Linked DNA regions of Homo sapiens: regions 1, 3 and 4 are each linked to region 2. The links are contacts of gene promoters, found by promoter capture Hi-C in blood cells and fetal thymus (Javierre and others, 2016). All regions are on one chromosome and are shown on one strand. Each heading gives the region's core, a stretch centred on a gene start or on the middle of the fragment in contact. The rest is flanking DNA. Distances are from core to core; before and after follow the strand shown.

Region 1 (3,536 bases), core at 251-2,750, 1.0 Mb before region 2:
CTAAAACGTTTACCCACTGACTGTTTGCAGAAAAGTTTGCCAAACTCTGGTCTCTGACATTTGGTTCTCAAGTTTTTTGGTCTCAACGCTTTCACGCTCTTACAAGAGGACACTCGAAAGCTTTTGCAGATGTGAGTTGTGTCTGTGGATATTTACAGTATTAAAAATTAATATAAGAAATATTAGAATATGTAGTTTCTTTAAAAATGAGAAAAACATTACATGTTAACATTTTTATGAAAAATAACTATTTTCCAAAAGCAAAAACATGAATGAGACAAGTAGCATTGTTTTACATTTTTGCAAATCTCCGTAATGTCTTGACTTAATGTGAGATAGTTGGAATGTCCTGTCTGATTCCGCTGTCAGTCTGTGTGGTGTTATGCCGCTGAAGTATGTGAAGAAAATCTGAACTCACACAATAATGAAGTTTGGAAAGTTGTTAAAGCATGTTTTAACAACTTTTTTGGATAATTGTAGATATTCTTCTTTGATACTACACCAAAGCTTGACAAGAGGTAATTTCTCAAAGCTTAGTTACATTATGAAATCTGAAATCATATCAATGAACTTTTTGTACTCTTCATCGAAATCCATTGATTGGTTTGCATGCATTGTTTGAATGTGTGATTTTGCCAAGGCATGCACTTGCCATTTGGAACACATTGGTTCACTGAGTTATTTGACTCTTCCAAATATTGACACATTTCATTATACAGTATCAAAAAGTCATAACAGTGTTACCACCAATGTCATCAGAAAAGTCTTTTACATATTGGGAAGCGGTCAGGCCCAGGATGGTGGATATAAGTTTTTTAAAAATCAGTTTTTTACTTGGAATCTCAAATTTTATCACTGGCCACAAGCCCTGTCAGTTGTTTTCTGTGAAATGACCACATGTAGCAAGCACCCCAGCATACAGGGGAGCCTAGCAGCTTCATTCATTTTGTAGCAAACATCAGTCACATGCCCAGATCTAAATAAACATAGACTGTCAGTTGTTCTTTCAAGTAAAAGTGTTGTTTCATGAAAAAGATGGCCAGTTCAACTCATAACTCAAACCGTCACGAAAACAGTTCTTAAGAAATCATTCCTTCTTTATAAACAGAAGTGCTTTATGTATATTTCCTGCACAGAATATTGAAAAGACGTGTACTCCTGGGTCTAGATTTGATACATTTAATGTTATGCTTTCATGTGTTTACTAGATGCCTACTTGTATGACACACCATCTTAGCCAGAAGTTCAGCAACTCGTACACAGCTCACAAGTCACAAAAACCAGGATGTGTGGCTTCAGAGGTTTCTGAAATGACGCTGGGTTTCTTAGATGGTGCTGGTTTTTTTCATTGTTTTTTTTTTTTAAATCACAAACACTACTAATACCCACTGTTGCCACTGTTTGACTTATGCTAAACTGCTAGCAGTTCTTCCCACCATTGTTTTTGCATTATTTATACAAATATCAAGACGCTGAAAAAGGCAAATAATTTCTCAGTATTATTATAAAAATAGTTTTGGCTTTGTATAGTTTTGGTCTTGGGACCCCAGGGTTCTGAACCATGCTTAGAGAAATGCTAGTCTAAGTGAAGGAAATGGTCTGGGCTTGTCTCCTAACCTCTGAAGTCCCCACACACTGGATCCACTTCCCAAATACACCCTTGTCCTGTCCTGTCTTAAAGTCTTCGCCCAAGCAAGCCATTTTGTGCCCCTGGAATTGCCCCTGGGGAAATCCCAGCCATCCTCCAGGGCCCTTGCCAGCACCAGCTCTTTTCGTGAAGCCTTGGCGGTACTGCTCAGAGCACACAGGACTCTGTCTGACTTCCCCAGGGAAGAAAGCCAGAGTGACCTCTAAAGTCACATGTTGTTCTTTTATGACTTGTTAACCTTGTGTAAGTTGCTGAACCTCTATGACCCTCCGTCTCTTCATCTGTTAAAATAGGGATAATTTTACCTACATTTGCAGGGATGTTTTGAGAATTAAATAAGATACATATGTATTGTGTCCAGCGTGAGGCATGGCATATGGGAGTTAATGAATCTTGGTTGCCTCATTCATTCTCCTGATGTGTAAGTGCCTCAAGGGCAAGTATGTTCTTCTACTTAACTTTTTTTTTTTTAATCCCCCTGCAATGCCTAAGATAGCGCCTCGGACAAGTAGGCATCTGGTAAACATATCTTGGAGTAAATTATACTTAGAGATTGGATATTCTAGTTTTAATTTGCCTTGCTTTTTTCACAGTTTCATCTCCCTTTCTGGCTTGTGGCATAGATAAACTCTGTTCTTGCCAGTGCTCTCAGTTGTGATGGAACCTGTACATCTGGCATTGTTTCATGGCTTAAACTCTTGGCCTTCCTTTTCTATTTTTTTTAATAATTTTTTATTGTGAATTAATTTAAACTTGGATGAGTTTTGTGTTTTGTTGTTCCCAAGCTAATGATCAGCATTTGCATACAGATGAAGCTTCCCTGAGAATCAGAAGCAGGGTGGATTATATTGTAGGAGAGGAAACACACACACAGACACAGACAGACACACACACACACAGACACACACACCCCAAGAACTTGGTTAAGAATTCAAAGTAGAATAGTTTCTTCCTGTTCCCAGCATCATAGGCAGTGCTCAAGTATTACAAATGTCCCATTTTTAAAAAGTATTTGGGAACATTCGTTGTGAAAAATCAGTGTGTAAAGGAAGGTACTTCTGGTCCATATTCAGGAATCCCTAAAGGAAGGAAAGTAGACCATGGCAAGTAACAGTTGCTGGGCATGGCTGTGCAGAGGGGCTCGGACTGTGGTCGTAGAATGGGTTCTCAGGTTTGCCTTCATGAATGGTTCACATTATCTGTCTCCATCTGATGGGTCAGCTTTGGGCTGCTCTGAATCGCCCTGAGAAACATTGAACATTTTCCCTGGGCCAGCAGCAGCGTCCCTCGGATCTTCCAGTCCTGGGGGCACTGAGCACCAGGGGGATGGAAGATCGGCCCTGGGGAGACCCCCCCAGCCTGGTCTTGGCTCCCTTCCCCAATGTGAGGAGTCTCTTCCGTTCAAGTTTCCGCATCTGTGAATTGCAGGAAGCTCAATCCTAGTCAATGCCTGAGCTGCTCGATGAAAGCCAGTAATCAAAAATTTTGATTTCTTTGCAGATGGCCAATCTAAAAGCCACTTTCACTTTTCCCAAGCCAACTGTAAGTTCATTTAATGAATGGCTAACTCAAGTAACCCAGGGCAATAGATGTCTTTTCATCAGGTGGTAAAGAAGCAAGTGGCTTGGCTGACCTCACGATAGTTAGGGGTGTCCAGTGCAGGAGGGGAAGGGAGCCCAGGAAATTGGCCTGTGATTCTTCTCCAGCCATTTATGCAGTAAACACAGGACATCTGCTGTGTATGAGACACCGTGATTGTCATCCATACTTAGGAATTCACCAGACCATTTGTTTCCCAGCTTTTCTTTTGAATTAAAATCTTCCACAAGCCACGGGAAGTTTCTCTGCTTGGACTCTACCCCTAAAGCCTCCCCGTCGGCCTCCGAGG
Region 2 (3,349 bases), core at 421-2,920:
ATGGGGGCGGCCCGGCGGGCGCGAGGAGCCAGGTCCCGCTTCCTCCGGCGCGCCGGCCCCGCGCCCGGCCCCCGCCCCCCGAGGCCTTCCCCGCCTGCCTCTTCGCGCTCGCCAGTCCCGCCGCGCCTTCCTCCAGCTGCCCGGCCCGGCGCACGCCCCGCCGCCCGCACGCCTTCTTCCCCGCCCGGACCTAGCGGGCCCTCCTTCCCCCGATTCCAACCCACTGCGCTTCCTCCCAAGACTCCAGCTTCTTCCCCTCAGCCGCCGCCTTCGCGCCCTTTTCTGAATGTATTTTTACAATTTCCCCCTTCATTTCCAAAAGTGGCTGAGAAGTCTCGCTTCCATCTTAATGTTGATTTGCTATTTCCCTCCGGAAAAGATTTCCTCAGGAAACCCCAAATCTAGAAGGAAATACAGCAAACCCTAGAACGCTTTTAACCCTTAAGACATCTTGTATTAAAAGAAAAAAAAAGCATGTATGTCTTAAAACCGGCCAAAGAACCATCTCCTCGCTCTTTATTTCCTCCTGTAAATGCTATTATTTTAAACTCTCCATTTTAAACTCGTCCTTCGGACGAGAGGGCAGAGAATGTGCCCGGCAGCACGCAGCAAATCAGAGGTTTTATCTTACGCCTCCTGGGACTGGGAAAAAAAGTGGAACGTGGCCGAGGGAGCTTCCAGGGCAGAAAAGCGACACAATTCGCTGGGGACGCCGCTGGGCCAGGCCAGGCGGGGGAGGCGCGGCGGGGGCGTCGAGGGCTCTCGGGCTCCGGGCCGGGGCGCCGCTGCGAGGAGGGGAGGCGGTTTTAAGTCATGGGGGCTGGGAGGGCGGCGGCGGGTCGGGCGTGACGAGACTTTCGGAGGCAGGATGGGGCGGCGGTGGAGTTGCCTGGGCTTTCTCAGCACCCCCCCCAACACACCCAAATAAAAAAAGGAAAGTTAGAAGGAGGCGGAGAGGAGGACAGCCATCCCCATTTCCTCCCCGCGACGCCGCGGAAGGGCTGGGGCCGCTGCGAGCAGAGAGAGGGCGCGGGATGAGGCGGGCCAATCGCAGTCAACAGGTCCAGGCCTCAGTGGGGCAGCTGAGCCGGGAGGCCGGCGCCCCCTCCCCTCGGCTCCCCGTCCCTCCCCTCCCTCGCAGGCCCGGCGCGGTAGGGGAGGCCCGGCCCGGCCCTCCCCGCCCCGCGCGGACTCGCTGCGGCCGACTCCGCCGGGGCAGTCGGGGTGGGGGTGGGGCGGGGGTTCCCCGCCGGAGAATCCTCCCCCGGGGCTGGCGGCGGGGGCGGGGAGCGAGAGCCGGGAATGGAGGATTAGGAAGGACTCCAGCTCGGCACGAGCGCGGCCCGCGCGAGGGATCCTGGGTAAAAAGTGGCCGCGCGGCACCGGAGAGCGCGGAGAGGAGCCGGGGTCAGGGGTCACGGCCCTGGAGCCCCGCGTGCAGAGCCCCCCACGTGAACGCAGCGAGCAGGAGGAACCTTTTTGTTTTCGACCGCGCCAGCATGCTCCCCTATTGACCGAGCTGCTTTTCCTGGGCTGCTGGGGAGAGGAGCTCCATTGCGGAGCTCTTAACCCCACCCCCACCTTCCACCGCCAACACACTTCCCAACTCAACCCTTCCTCTCAACTCTCATCCCAGCCCCCCGTCCTGAGCTTGCAATAACGCAGTAAATTTGCTTTAACAACAAGTGGGGGTGGTTGAATTTACTCCTCCCTCTCCTCTCTCCTCCCCTTCCTCTTGCTGCGGTTCTTGACACTACTACAAACCAGGACTATAAACATAAACATGTGTCACTGTAACAGGGCAGGTAATATACGGATTTTGAGGCGGGGTGGGGTGGAGCGGGGCTTGGTCGCCGCTTGGAGGGCAGTAAAAAGTCGCGTTTCACGTGCTCGACGGCTTTGGGGACTCCCGCACACATCGATCCGTTTATATAATGCCGAAGGCACTTGGTCACTTATTCAGCCACGCAGACCCACAAAGCCAGACTTGCGGATAACCAGCGTACCCCAAAGCAAATGCATTTCAATACGAATCCCTCTCCTTTCCCAGCCAGTGCTGCCATTTCTTCTATTAGCAAACAGTAACGTGATACTTGAATCCCCTTTCCTTTTTAAAAATTCTTTTCCAGATAGCCATGAGATCATTTTTCGACCTAAATAGTACATCTCTCCCATAGCCACTACCTACACATTTTGTGCGCAGAAACCCCTTCAAACAGCAAGAAAGTCTATTTAAATGACTGAGTTCGAAATCTGGTGTGCAAAGGGTATTTCTTGGGCTTTGCCTCCGTGCATTGAGCAACTTCTGCTGCAAGTTGCTGACACTGGCGCGGTGGAGATCCGCCACAGCAAGCCTTTTTTATTATTATTTAGTCTATATCTGCCTCTCAACTTTTTTCTCATTCTTAGTTCAACAAGCCAGCAACCACTACTTAAGGTAGAGTAAAGCGAATCCCTTCCCAAGCTTTTTGGCTTGAAACGGAGGGAGATACAGAAAATGTTCAGATGGGGAAGTGGTTCCCTTTGTTCTTTCATTGTTTCTCTACGAACTGGTGGATACAAGGACAAACACTTACCTTCTCTTCTTTTTGCTCCACAAACCAGACGTTCCCATCAGCCTTAAAATACACAATCCACCTTGAAAGTAACTACGGATGTCGGGAGAGTTTGTATTCCATTCTTTTTCGCTCTCTGCCCTCTTTTAGCGTAGGATTAAGTTGCAGAGCACGTTGCTGCAAGCTGTAGCCCCCCCCCCCCCCCGCCTTAGTGAATCGGTCACGTTTAGGACCCTCTAAGTCCATCCTAATTCTGCCAGTAGAATTGAGGGTATTGGAGCTCTAAACTTTCAAAAGGAAAGGGGCCTGCAACTCTCCAGAAAACTTACAAATACCCCGAAATTTTTTACCATTGTGTTTTTGCACCACATCACCAAATAGTATTTGCCAAGAAATAATAGATATGTCTTTGAGAAAAAAAAATTTTTTTAAGTTTATACTTAGCAATGCGCTGCTTAGACAGATGTAGTAAAAGGCAGGTTTGTATCGGCATTTAACGGAATGAGTGCGTTTTCCATAACGTTTGTTGTGCCATGTGTTTTTTTAAAACACAAACAAAACACTACCCCAACTGAGAAAGGAAATAGAAGTTTGAATTAAAATGTTGTGGAACAACTTTAAAAGAGACGTTTACTTGAAATTTATTAGTGTAAAAATTGGCCTCAGAAGTGAAAAGTAAGCTTTTCAAAGTTAAAAGACTTAATTTTCACCCTATGATTCCATAACAAAAAAGCGAATTTTCTGGTTAATATGTGATACTGTCAGTGTTGAGTGTCCAGTCTTTTGGGTCTTAG
Region 3 (3,368 bases), core at 137-2,636, 1.1 Mb before region 2:
GGTGTATGTCACTATAGAAAAATGACTGTCCCTTCATAATGCCCACCATACTCTGGAGCCCAGGCAGGGAAGCAGCACGGCAGGGGGAGATGGAGGCTCTGGGCAGGGCCCCTGCAGGGCCCTCCATGTACACCAGCCCACCTGATGTTGGAGAACTGAGTTGGGCAAGTCATTTCTGCTCTCTGGGTCTGTTTTCTTATCTGTATATTGAGTGGTTTGGAATCATCTCCAAGGTTGCTTCCAACTCTAATGCTCTTTGAGGTTTATTTATACATGGAGGGACCCCTCGGGGGCACCTGAAGGTCACTCCCAAGCTCTGTTTCCATCAAGGGCCTCCCAACTTGTCCAAGCATCCAACATCATGCTGTGATTCCTTTTTCCTTTGCAACAAAACAAAGCACACTGAGGAGTTTCTTATTCAGTGTCAGTAGATAGACTGTTTTGAGGCAGCACAGTGACTGTGTTGAAGATATAAGACCTCCTTCCCTGAGCTCATGTGCTCGTTCTAGCTGACGTTGTCCTGAATACATCTGGAATCTGTGAAGTGTTATTTTCACTGCATGTTCTCTTTCATCTCAGCCCAGGTGTCCTAAACCATCATTAGGCCCCTGCTGAGATGATGGTTGTACTGTCTTCTGATCGGACTCTGTTTCTTGGGACGGTTGTCCTGAGTCACCTTCCGAGGCCCATGCTTTACAGCATTTCCTAGAGCAACGAGTCGAGTCTTCGAGTAAATCCTTTTTTTTTTTTTTTTTTTTGAGACGGAGTTTTGCTCTTGTTGCCCAGGCTGGAGTGCAATGGCACAATCTCAGCTCACTGCAGCCTCCGCCTCCCAGGTTCAAGCGATTCTCCTGCCTCAGCCTCCCGAGTAGCTGGGATTACAGGCATGCCCCACCACGCCTGCATAATTTTGTATTTTTAGTAGAGACGGGGCTTCTCCATGTTGGTCAGGCTAGTCTCGAACTCCCAGCCTCAGGTGATCTGCCCGCCTTGGCCTCCCAAAGTGCTGGGATTACAGGCGTGCCCCACTGCGCCCGGCTGAGTAAATCCATTTTTAGAGTCATAAAAGATCCAAGGTAGAGGTCTAATTCAGCCTGTTCTCTCCCCAAGCTTATTTTCCATCACTTCATAGACCCGGAAACTAAGGCTCAAAGAGACTAAATGCAATCTACAAGAACTGATGAATGTTCTAGATCTCAGACCAGTGCCCTCACCATTACCCTGTGCTGCTCAGGTTGGAGTGCGGTGGTGTGATCTCGGCTCATTGCAATCTCTGCCTCCCAGGTTCAAACAATTCTCGTGCCTCAGCCTCCCAAGTAGCTGGAATTACAGGCATGCACCACCACACCTGGCTGATTTTTGTATTTTTAGTGGAGACCGGGTTTCACCACGTTGCCCAGGCTGGTCTCGAACTCCTGGCCTCAAGTGATCCGCCCACCTCAGCCCCCAAAGCGCTGAGACTACAGGCATGAGCCACTGTGCTGCCTTTAAAAACACATGTCTGCTGCATGCCTTGGAAGAAGGCAAGAAAGTAAATGATAATAAAAATACATAAACAATTTTACTTTATTTTAAAGGCTACAAAAAGTCTATGATTATGATGACAGAAGTTTAGTCTTATCTTTGTAAATCGCCCTTTTTGGTTAGTTCATAGAAAGCTTTAGACAGGAATCTTAGGCACATTGCTTGGCTCCATTGTACACTAGTTTCTTTATCTTGAGGTGGGAAAAATGGATCTAGCTTTTCCTCTCTCACAGGAATATTGTGAAAATAAATATGAAATAATGAGTTGGATTTTTCCAGGCCTTAGAATCATTCCAAGGATCAGGTGTTTTGTATAGAATTGCATGAACTCTTTTGATTTCCTCCTTATCAGATAAGGCTTTTAATACACTTGATTTATGTATTTTTATATTCATAGTGATATGAAAGGTACATTCTATGTTTTGACACAGTGTTCCTAACTTCATTGGTTATTTCATGTTCATGAACCTTAAAAATATTCAGATAGTGTGGGTTGGGGCTACTCACGTGGATTATTAAAATGGTGATTTGAGACAGAATCAAGATTCGAATTTTTAAGGTTTTATATCCCAGGGTGAAGACATGGCTGATATCCTAATCCAGTGTCTGCATATATGATTATAGTAATGCCTTTGAAATTGAAAGAAAAGGCACAAACTGGGGAAGAGGTAGTATCTGAGCTAAGGAGTTCCTACATTATTTGCTTTTACGTTTCCAGCCCTTTATAAACCCATATGTTGCGCTGGGCATGGTGGCTCATGCCTGTAATCCCAGCACTTTGGGAGGCCAAGGCAGGCAGATAGATCACTTGAGGCCAGGAGTTCGAGATCACCCTGGCCAGAATGGCAAAACCCTGTCTCTATTAAAAATAAAAAAATTAGCTGGGCATGGTGGCACATGCCTATAATCCCAGCTACTCAGGAGGCAGAGGCACGAGAATCACTTGAGTCCAGGAGATCAAGGCTGCAGTGAGCCAAGATCGCACCACTGTACTCCAGCCTGGGCAACACAGTGAGAACCTGTCTCAAAAAATAAAAATAAAAAACCCTGTACATTGTCCTGGTACTGGTACATAGTATTATTAAACCCTTCTTTAATTAGTAAAGTAAATGCCATGAATTATTATTCTGAACTATAAAGTTTCCCATTTTAATCGAACTAGAGGTGTAGAGAATATAATGGGAAAGGCATGAGTGCCGGTAAGTCTGTAATTATAATGTACTTAATACGCTAGACTTTACGTGCTGCATGCCAGTAAAACACAGGGTAAACACCATTCTGTAGACCTTGGTTCTCATGTGTGGTCTGCAGACCCACTCCAGCAGCAGCATCTACTTCTGAAAATGCCCCACCCCTGACCTGCTGGATCAGAATCTGCATTTTCACATGATCCCTGGGTGATTCAGTTGCTTGTTAAGTTTGAGATGCACTGACTATGCAGCTTTTGATTCACCCTATTGGCCCATGAGAGGACGTTATACTGTCCTATCTAATGTGCATAAGAAAACGATCTATGAAACTGAGGCTGCTGGAATTCTATCCTGTGCTGAATACAGTTCTCCTTTACTATTCCCCATCCCCCAAAAGTTGTTTTACACGTATTGTCAGTTTGACAGAGTTTAAGGTCTGTTCCACTTGGTCTGCTCCACCTGGCTTTCATAAACTTGATTGTTCCCACTTTGATTTTATGCCCAAAGATAATCTGCAATCTTACAGTTCCTAGAGTTCTTGTTTTATTTGAAAGAAATACCCTTTTGCAAATTAGTGATTGCAAGAAAAAAGTAAGACCACTAACAAAGAGCAATAATTGCTTTTTGGGGGCTAGCATTTAAAACCCCACAAGG
Region 4 (3,562 bases), core at 944-3,443, 1.1 Mb before region 2:
AAGACTGAAAAAGGTAAGATTAAGTATTTTCAGTAATTTTAACACTACAGAAAATCTTTTGCTCTCCGTTAGAGATTTTTTCATGAAAGCAGTAAAACTAATTTTTGAATTTTCTGAAAATGTTGTTTTAATAGTGATTTTTTAAAAGCCTAGCTCTTAAGTTTAGCATATTTTGATTGTCAGTTTTAATGGCTTTCATTGCTGAAAAATACACCCCACAAAGATTTGTAAATACAAGTGGAAGAACTGTATCACTGGCCATTTTTACTAAATCATACGAAATTATTATGCTCCTTTTCTCAACACATCTCGCCAGTTATACAAAGGTTTTTAGTTGACTTTCAGATGATAAAATTTTATTCTGAAACTTATTGGAAGTTTATTGTGTTTTTAAACTTTTAACAAATAGATTCAAAAACCATTAACAAATGGGTTTGAAACTCTCTGGCAAGATTTCTAATACACTAGAATATTCTATTTCCAAGTTACTAAGTGTGCTGATATAAAAGTTTTCATAGGTGACACAGTTTCATTGTTTTTGGCAAAAAGATAACAAAACAGTGGAAATATTTTCAAACATCTGTTTGTATAATACTCTTTCAAAGCTTTGGTTTCTCTTGAAAAGCAGTTAATTTCTTACTCAATGTTGAGTCTCACCTTTACTTTGAAAGGAAGCGTAAAGTGTGCTGATTTTTTTTTCCCCCTGCTAGGTAACATACTACTGAGAAGCACCTCTGACCCCTGCAAAGGTCCATGAATTTGGAACACATGTTTTATAAGGGAAAAGTGCATGACTCATCTCCTAAATTCCACAACTTTTTTTTAAAGTGCTTGCATTCTTCTTCCCTCTCAACCATACACAGTAGTTCTTTGAATACAGGAAATAAGTTAGCAAATACCCGAAGCAGAGAAATGTTAGAATCATCTTTACTTTGATGCAATTCTAAAGCAAACTTCATAGGCTGTGTAATTTATTCTAATCCTTGAGTCTTCAAATATTGACTGGTGTTTCTATGCCTCTGCCCGCAGTATTTGCTGACAAAGGAATTCATTCAAATTTGATGCCATATTGGTTTTTACATGCTTTAAGCCATTTTTGCCTTGGTAGAAATAGCAAGTGCTTCTCCAGTAATATGTGGTTTTTAGTCTTTTCCTAGCAGAGGAACCCAGAAAGAAGCTTCTACATGTTAATCATTAAATTAATAAAATTTTGTGAAGTACTGAATTTGTAGTGTAGTACTGCCCAATGTTAAACATAGTGAAGAAAACTAGAGTTGTTTGTCTTCAGGTCCTGAGTGCTTAGATTTTAAATGACTTGCGCATTTTGATAGCTCTGGAGTATCATTAGCTGGTATCTCTAGGCACAGTGTACACTTAGGGAAGCTTTATCATGAACAAAAATGAATGGAAGCCCACATTTTAAATAAAGTCTTCCCAGTCATTTTAATTGTTGTGAACTATTCTTTTCATATCTGATGAAATCATCAGTGCTTTGACCTCATCATGTGACTGATAGCGAGAACCCTGGGAGCTCAGGGCTCAGTCTTAGGCCTGCCACGTGGCTTCTTGTTGATTGGTCCTGTGTGTTTAACATTAGCTTCAGCCCATGTGGTTGTTTTTCAGGCATCCTCTTAAGCACTTACCTGTTTTGTGAGCGTTGCTTTAGCTTAGTTAAAGCCAGATGGTATGATCTGCAAATCCACTTAACTGGGCACATGTAACCTACAATTGGTTGCAATGCACTGGACCTGAGCAGTGCACGGACGTCCCCTGCCAACCGCCAACCTCTAAGCTCCTACTGTTCCTGGGGGTACCTCCCTTCCAATATACAGCTCATGACGCTCACATTGGACTGAGGAGGGCATTCGTCAGACAAGCTGTGTAAAGGCAGCCTTTTAGTATAATGTACATAGAGAAGCTCTGCTGTCTTCTCCCCGAGGAGCACACCGCCCTTGTGGAAGACCCTTGCGACCCTTGCCTTAGAGCTGCGGTCTGCCCCTGAGTTAGACGCTTCCTTCGTGAGCACTTTGGTTTTTCTCTCCATCATTACTATGAAAATAACAAGTGATCAAGAATTTAAACAGTACGGAAGCTCACCATTACAGGTGAGCTTCACCCCCGACCCCAGACACCTAAACTTGATCTTTGTGCTTTTTTTGTGCTTTCTCAGTGAGTTTCATAGACAAACACATGAATGTGTAACCTTTTTTTTTAAAAAAAAAGTCAATGGTAGCACATTAAACGCATCTCTATCTCGCTTTTCTCACTCTGCACTATTTCTTAGAGAATGTTCCATGTTGGTTTACACAGCTATACATAATTATTTGCCCCGGTGTTTGCTAGGTAATATGCTTGTGCCATTATTTATGAATTTGTCATGTTAGGCATTTTCTTTTGAGTTTCTGCCAAGGCAGATGATGCTGGCTCTCTCACACCATCTCTTTTCTCCCCTCATCCTTCTTTTTTTTGAAATAATGCATACTTTTTTTGGTAAAATAATAGCATTCACCTTACTGTGACTCAGTTATTTTTAGTACTTTGTGAAGTACTAAATTTGGCGATTTAGTATTGCATGATGTTAAATAGCATTGAGAAAAAAATTATAGATTTGTTATAGTCTCCTTCATGCTAAAGGCTTTCCTCCCATGTCCGGTGGTTTGTTGCTCTCCAGTCAGGTTTTAGAACGAGGTGCTGGAAGACAGACGACTTGTCCCGGGTATGTGGAGTGGCGGTGCCCGTCCACTGACAGTGGGGAAGAGGCCAGCCTTTGTGCTGCCGCCCACTGGCGGAATTATTAATATTTCTAGGGCCTTTCCGCCAGAATGGGAATCCTCCAGTGTCCCCTCGGGGAGTGACCCAGGCCAAAGGTGCGATTGCAGCAGAGCAGGGGACAGCGGCAGAGGGCCCAGGCCTCAGAGCACAGATGGTAACTGGCTCCTCCCGTGCTCCGTGACGCCCAGCCCAGCCCTGTGTGAGCTGGGTCTTCCCGTGCCCGAAGCTTCTTGGGCTGGGGTTTCTGAGGAATCAGTCCTGTGCCTCTCATGCGATGGGATGGCATGGACAGCAACAGGCAGCGCACCGTCTTTCTGCCACCTGAACCCCAGCTGTGGAGCCCCTCAGCATCTGGGAGCACATGGCATTGAGTGGCCACCGGCACAGAGGTAGCAGCTTTGTCTCCTCTTCTGTCTGCTAACAATCCTCTACTACTTTTCTGTCTTTAAAAAATTCTTTGACATTTCTCGTTTTCTATTGTCTGCTCTCCAATGTTCTTGTCATGTTTGGTGGTGGTGTTTTTGATTTTCCCCCAATCTCTAACTTCCTTTACTGTCATCTTAGCAGAGCTTCTGGAAGGAAAAGAGATAAAAATGCATGGTCAGGTCATCTCTTAAAATGGGAATCCGGGAAAGCAGTGTAAATGGCAGCATGGTACCCTTCCTCTCATTGTTCTTTCAGGATGGATGCTGGGCAGGAAAGCAGGCGGCCCCTCTGTTGTGGTCATGGAAAGAAAAACAAAAGTTCTGGTGTAACAGAATTAGGATTTCATTGCTTCCTTCTGGAATCT

What was found. The method cuts DNA at HindIII sites, captures the fragments that hold promoters and counts their contacts. A CHiCAGO score of 5 or more calls a contact.
Region 1: a fragment that was not itself captured here is called in contact with the fragment with the promoter of SKIDA1 in region 2 in 1 of 17 cell types (naive B cells); the score reaches 6.4 in naive B cells.
Region 3: a contact is called between a fragment that was not itself captured here and the fragment with the promoter of SKIDA1 in region 2, in 1 of 17 cell types (total B cells). The highest score is 6.4, in total B cells.
Region 4: a fragment that was not itself captured here is called in contact with the fragment with the promoter of SKIDA1 in region 2 in 1 of 17 cell types (non-activated CD4 T cells); the score reaches 5.5 in non-activated CD4 T cells.

Annotation. Positions count from the first base shown.
Region 1 is chr10:22,568,667-22,572,202 of GRCh38, reverse strand. The region is part of intron 5 of PIP4K2A (phosphatidylinositol-5-phosphate 4-kinase type 2 alpha); the gene reads left to right. Among named protein-coding and RNA genes, the nearest start is that of LINC03027, 130 kb to the right of the region's middle. The HindIII fragment of the contact is 1,931 bases long and covers 535-2,465 here.
Region 2 is chr10:21,524,003-21,527,351 of GRCh38, reverse strand. It overlaps SKIDA1 (SKI/DACH domain containing 1), which reads left to right and starts at 1,670. Exons shown (of 4, transcript NM_207371.4): 1 at 1,670-1,805. RefSeq lists silencers at 1-70, 81-200, 646-795, 916-1,335 and enhancers at 991-1,634, 1,635-2,278. The HindIII fragment of the contact is 4,259 bases long and covers 1-2,466 here.
Region 3 is chr10:22,593,596-22,596,963 of GRCh38, reverse strand. All of the region lies in intron 3 of PIP4K2A (phosphatidylinositol-5-phosphate 4-kinase type 2 alpha), which reads left to right. Among named protein-coding and RNA genes, the nearest start is that of PIP4K2A, 120 kb to the left of the region's middle. The HindIII fragment of the contact is 548 bases long and covers 1,113-1,660 here.
Region 4 is chr10:22,621,824-22,625,385 of GRCh38, reverse strand. All of the region lies in intron 1 of PIP4K2A (phosphatidylinositol-5-phosphate 4-kinase type 2 alpha), which reads left to right. Among named protein-coding and RNA genes, the nearest start is that of PIP4K2A, 91 kb to the left of the region's middle. RefSeq lists an enhancer at 1,260-1,760. The HindIII fragment of the contact is 1,615 bases long and covers 1,386-3,000 here.